2 separate regions of the Homo sapiens genome follow, and region 2 is linked to region 1. The links are contacts of gene promoters, found by promoter capture Hi-C in blood cells and fetal thymus (Javierre and others, 2016). All regions are on one chromosome and are shown on one strand. The core of a region is centred on a gene start or on the middle of the fragment in contact, and the rest is flanking DNA. Distances in the headings are between cores, read along the strand shown. Region 1 holds the start of MYOC (myocilin). Region 2 overlaps C1orf105 (chromosome 1 open reading frame 105).

What was found. The method cuts DNA at HindIII sites, captures the fragments that hold promoters and counts their contacts. A CHiCAGO score of 5 or more calls a contact.
Region 2: a contact is called between a fragment that was not itself captured here and the fragment with the promoter of MYOC in region 1, in 1 of 17 cell types (M1 macrophages). The highest score is 5.1, in M1 macrophages.

The regions. Positions count from the first base shown.
Region 1 is chr1:171,651,205-171,654,477 of GRCh38, forward strand. It overlaps MYOC (myocilin), which reads right to left and starts at 1,484. Exons shown (of 3, transcript NM_000261.2): 1 at 804-1,484. The coding sequence starts at 1,407. The HindIII fragment of the contact is 6,597 bases long and covers 1-3,273 here.
Region 2 is chr1:172,428,562-172,431,659 of GRCh38, forward strand. All of the region lies in intron 1 of C1orf105 (chromosome 1 open reading frame 105), which reads left to right. Among named protein-coding and RNA genes, the nearest start is that of C1orf105, 9.4 kb to the left of the region's middle. RefSeq lists an enhancer at 267-789. The HindIII fragment of the contact is 2,261 bases long and covers 356-2,616 here.

The DNA.
Region 1 (3,273 bases), core at 234-2,733:
CTGGATTTGCTTGCTTATTTCCTCATGATTAGAACACTTCCTCAACAGGGAATATTTGGGAGCCCACTTTCACAAAAAGTGACACAAATACCATCTTCCCAGCTAATAAGAAGACCTCCCCCAACACCTCACCCCCGCACCCCCCCCACACACACACAGACTCACCTTTAGGCAAGAAGGGACCAGGATGAACAGAAGAGCCTCTCAGAAAAAGCCATCTCAAGAATTTGTCTGATGACTTAAAAGCAGAGGTTCTCAGATTGGACTGAGTAAGAAAACTTTCAGAACAACATATTAAGAAAACTGACAGAGAGGTGCCATCTCTTTATTTTGCCAGGGAAGAACATTTAAAAATAAACAAAAACTTACCACTTATTATCATTTCCCAAATCTATTGTAATTTCATAAATAAAGGTCATTTTAACATCAAAAGGTACAAATAACAATCTGAGCAAAGGTTCAAAAAAGGATAGTTTTTCAAAAGGGACAATTGACAACTTTCTACTGCTCATATGCAGACACATCTCACCCGGTCCTTTTATTTCTCCTTTTGCTATGGACTGTGAAAACTGACATGGAGGGGCACAAGAACTCTGAACCACTAATCTAAATGAAGCTCTCAGGAGCTAAATTACTAGTAATACTTGAAGGTGATCGCTGTGCTTTCCTTAATTCATCTGTCTTGTGCTAGCTGTGCAGTCTCTAGGAGAAAGGGCAGGCAGGGAGGCCTGGAGCGCCTGTAGCAGGTCACTACGAGCCATATCACCTGCTGAACTCAGAGTCCCCCCACTCTGCATTCTTACCTTCTCTGGAGCCTGGTGGCACAGCCCGAGCAGTGTCTCGGGTCTGGGGACACTGGCCCCTTCTCAGCCTTGCTACCTCCTGGCTGCTGCTTTCCAACCTCCTGGCCAGATTCTCATTTTCTTGCCTTAGTCGCTTCTTCTCTTCCTCCAGAACTGACTTGTCTCGGAGGAGGTTGCTGTAGGCAGTCTCCAACTCTCTGGTTTGGGTTTCCAGCTGGTCCCGCTCCCGCCTCAGGGTGCCCAGCTCCCTCTGCAGCCCCTCCTGGGTCTCCTGGGGCCTGGCAGCCTGGTCCAAGGTCAATTGGTGGAGGAGGCTCTCCAGGGAGCTGAGTCGAGCTTTGGTGGCCTCCAGGTCTAAGCGTTGGGTGCTGCTGTCTCTCTGTAAGTTATGGATGACTGACATGGCCTGGCTCTGCTCTGGGCAGCTGGATTCATTGGGACTGGCCACACTGAAGGTATACTGGCATCGGCCACTCTGGTCATTGGCCTTCCTGAGCTGAGCTGTCCTGGCCCCCACATCCCACACCAGGCAGGCCAGAAGCAGCAGCTGGACAGCTGGCATCTCAGGCCCAAAGCTGCAGCAACGTGCACAGAAGAACCTCATTGCAGAGGCTTGGTGAGGCTTCCTCTGGAAAGCTCTGCTGTGCTGAGAGGTGCCTGGATGGGTGGCCTTGCTGGCTCATGCCCGAGCTCCAGAGAGGTTTATATATACTGGGGAGCCAGCCCTTCATGGGGGAAGACAGAGGTGGCCACGTGAGGCTGGGTGGGGCTGTGCACAGGGGGGTTGCCTTCACGCTGCCAGCAAGATTCTTAGAAAATAACCTTCCAGAAGTCTGTTTGGAGTTTCTTTTTAAAAAGAACATCCCAATTTATGCACCCATACCCCAATAATAGTTCCTATATCTCCACCTGGTTTTACACACACACACACACACACACACACGTACACACACTTACACCAGGACTACTGGTGTGCTGATTTCAACAAGGATATATTTCTAGTTTATATTTCCATTCACTCTGCAAACTCATTGAGAACCTGCACTGTGCCAGGCACTATGCTAGGAACTGGAGATCCAAACAAGTCCTTTAAGACGTAGCAGGGACAGAGAAAAATAACAGCCAGCCAGAACACAAGGACAGCACCCTACCAGGCTCCAGGGAGAGCATTCCTATAGAAGCGGCAGATTTCCCCCCTCACCCCTAGCTTTAAAACAACTGTGTATCTTTGGGAGAACTTTCTAATTTCAGTCTTGCATCTCAGGCACCAATGTCAATGTTAGCCTCTAAATCAGTTCTTACTCTGTGTGTGTGCATGCCAAGAACCTCATTGGTGAAATCTGGGGAACTCTTCTCAGAAAGATGTTTTCAAATATATAAAATATAGATTACAAAGGAAACAAATGATAATGAAATATGATTATCAAAATATCAAAATTTTAAACATGTTTTATTAATATGTTAAAAACAAGATCCAGCAGGAGGTCTAATTTCAAAGTAGTTTTGAGTATAAATATTTCACTTACAACGTATCTGCAACAACTGTAATATAGTATAAAATGTCTGTGATTTCTATTGGTAATGACAAAATCACAGGTACTGTTATTACCACTTTGAGTTTATGGCTCTATTCGCAATGGAATAAAATGTTAAATTTAGTTAGAAGGTGGTAAAAACAAAAATGTAATTTTTTCCTCATTCAAATTCACAGGCTTTCTGGACTGTAGGTTAATAATCCCTGCTTTACATTAATAAACCCAAAGAGAAAAAACAAAAAGCAAATGGCAATAGCCAATAAATATACCAAAACTGTCAGAAGTAACTTTAAGCCACTTGAAATAATGATTGCCTTTGAGCAACTTTATGTTGTTAATACCAACAACAGTGTCAATACTTGTGAAGTAAATATTTCCAAACTGCCCTGGCAGACTCACCTCCAGAGTGGAGAAACACAGTTTGCTCTAAAGATTCTATTCTTATTTGATTGGTTCTGCAGTTAAGCCTGAACTTGAGACATTTACAAATGGGTGTTTGTTTACAGCTGACCAAAGGGTACTAGTCTCATTTTCTGAATCAGATAGTAAACATCGCTGAAATGATTTTTCAAAAAACCAATCATATAGTCAGCAAGACCTAGGCTTGAATCTGTTTGGCTTTACTCTTAGGAATGTTTTCTTCCTGTTAAAAGAAACGGGATTGCCCTTGTGCTGCTAACTCCACAGAGAAAAAGAGTTCCTAATAAGGAGAAACTAAGTAATCTTACAGCCTCAGTTACTACCTTGTGACTTGCTCAGAATTACTCAGCTTGTAAAGGAAAAATATAGTATTAGAAATCAGGTCTCCCGACTTCCCTTGAACTGATTTTTTCCCCCCACAATATAGCCCTGCCTCCTAGAACCCAGGATCACGTGGACTATAATCCCTGTGGTCAATTCCCACTGCCCTTGAATGAATCTGTCTTTCTTGCTCA
Region 2 (3,098 bases), core at 236-2,735, 780 kb after region 1:
TGACTGGGATGCTCTTCCCCAGGGAATCTGAATTACTCCCTCACTTCCTTCAAGTCTTTGGTAAAATGTTACCTTTCCCATGAGACCTACTCTGACCTCTTTATTTAATGCTATGCCACTTTTTTCTTTTTTCCATAGCACTTACTACCTTCCATTTATGTTTATTATCTATCTCCTCCTGCTATAATGTCAGCTCTACTAGGTCAAGAACCTTTGTCCTTTTTATTTACAGATATATTCCAAGCACACAGAACAGTATTTGTCATACAGTAAGTACTCAAAAAATATTTATTGACAATAAATTCCTGAAGCCACACACTATAAAAATCTGAATGGTAGAAGGTGAGTAGAGGGAAGCTTATGTAGATACTAAATATTTTGTTGGATTTTGGGGGATACTGTTGGATACTGGGGGAAGAGAATAAGGGATAAGGGAACGATGAGGAATTTGACAAAGCATTAAAAGCAACTGCCTACCATTATCCTTCAGTCCTGGGCTCCATTCAGGCACAAGCACAGGCTTTGTGTAAGAAAAGCAAAGTATTAGCCCAAGTTGGTAACATAGCCTTAGGCAATACTTAACCCACTCTGAGTCTCAGTCTCAACTGTGAAATGGAAATAAAACCTCTTACAGGATTGCTGTGAGAAGTAAATACAAATATACACACACACACACACACACACACACACACACAGACACACACACACATACACACACAACGTGCATAGCACGTTACCTAGCACGCATTGGGTGCTCTAAAATACAGGTGCTATTATTTATCAAACCCCAGTATGCTATTTACCTCCTGAATTTATGGAGACCTCAGACTCATTAATTCAGGTGTAGTTATTTCCCAAACCACAATTCAGCAAGAATTTCAAGACTCTAATTGCATCTCTTATAAAAAGGGAAATCAATCACTTCCACAAGATGGCACTGTGTCCCAGCCCTGTTTCCCTAAATACAACAGGTTTGAAATTTTGTATAACTATGTAACTGATGCCCTCTGCTGACTTGTTTTCTTTTTCTTGTCCTTGAGCCTTTGGCTTGGAGGATGTAAATGATGGCTCAATATGCATCCTCTATATGCTTGGTATGAATTATTAAATCCACAATGTAACCCAGCTGCCCAAAGTATTTCTCAAAAGTTTACTGACACCAATACAATCTCCACACAGAACACCAGGCATGTTGCTACAGCCAGATGCACAAGCCTTCTAGTTACATGCCAATCATAAATCAGCTGCATCACGCCACAAAATAAAGTGCACCTGTCATCCTATTGCTCTACTTCTTCTTAATCCCTCCCATACCAACTTTAATCCTTAATCCTTGGCACCATTTTGGAAGTGTGAGCAAAGCTGCCTCCCCATTCCTCTGTCCTTGATCTCACTTGCCACACCACCCTCCAGCCTTACCTGTAACTTAGAGTGATAAGAAGCAGAGCTGGGAGGAAGGGGTGTAGAGGGAGAAGGGCAGACAGCTTCTTATGCTGGCAAATATTTGGCAGGTTGGGATTTAATTCCAATGCTACTGTAAACTTTTCCTCCTCACCTTTCCCCCTTTCCCACACACACCACAGTATTCTCTAAAACTCTAAATCATTCATATTCTACTTGCACCCTTTCAGTGTGGTTTAAATATAAGAGACTGACTAGATCACTGAATTTAAGTGATGAGTAACTTCCCACCACAACTGTCATACTACTTTATACCAATTGTTTTCTAGGCCTGAATCCTTGTGCCAGCAGCCCACAAAGAGGCATGCCACAGGTGAGCCTCATCATCCTTCTGATGGCAGCAGTTAAGGGCTCTGGATTGCTTGACATTTTCTTAATAGAACGTTTAATGAATTTTTAATTTGCAATTTTTCTTAAACCTTTTTTTATTTATTTTTGAGACAGGGTCTTGCTTTTTGCCCATGCTGGAGTGCAGTGATGTGAACACAACTCACTGCATTCTCGACCTCCTGGGCTCAAGATCTGCCTGCCTTAACTTCTCGTGCAGCTGGGACCACAGGCACGCATCACCACCTCCAGTTAATTTTTTAAATTTTTTGTAGAGACAGAAGTCTCACTTTGTTGCCCAGGCTCGTCTCAAACTCCTGGGTTCAAGCAATTTTCCCACCTCAGCCTCCCAAAGTGCTGAGATTGCAGGTGTGAGCCATTGCGCCCAGCCAGATACAGCATTTTTTACAAATTGAAGATTTGTGGCAACCTTGTGTTAAGCAAGTCTGTCAGTGCCATTGTTCCAATTGCATGTGCTCACTTTGTGTTCCTGTGTCACATTTTGGTAATTATGACAATATTTCAAACTTTATTATCATATCTGTTATGCTGATCTGTGATCAGTGATCTTTGATGTTACCATTGCAATTGTTTTGGGGTACCACAAACTATACCCATATAAGAGGGCAAACTTAGTGGATATGTGTGTGTGTTCTGACTGCTCCACTGACCAGCTCTTCCCTGTCTTTCTTCCTCTTCTTGGGCCTCCCTATTTCCTGAGACACAACAGTATCAAAATTAAGCCAATTAATAACCCTGCAATGGCTTTTAACTGTTCAAATGAAGAGTTGCACATCTCTCATTTTAAATCAAAAGTAGAAATGATTAAGCTTAGTGAAGAAGGCATATCAAAAGCCGAGACAGGCTGAAAGCCAGGCCTCTTGTGACAAACAGCCAAGTTGTGAATGCAAATAAAAAGTTATTGAAGGAAATTAAAAGTGGTACTCCCATGATAAGAAACTAAAAGAGCCTTACTGTTAATACAGATAAAGTTATAGTGGTCTGTATAAAAGGCTAAACCAGTCACAACATTCCCTTTAGGCCAAAGCATAAACCACAACAAGGCGCTAACTCTTCTCAATTTAACAAAGGCTGAGAGAGGAGAGGAAGCTGCAGAAGAAAGGTTTGAAACTAAGAGAGGTTGATTCATGAGGTTTAAGGAAAACAGCCATCTCTGTAACATAAAAGTGCACACTAAAGCAGCAAGTGCTCATATGGAAGCTGCAAGTTATCCAGAAGATCTAGCTAAGAACATTGATGCAGGCTTCCATTCCAAGATGGCCAAATAGGAACAGCTCCAGTCTGCAGCT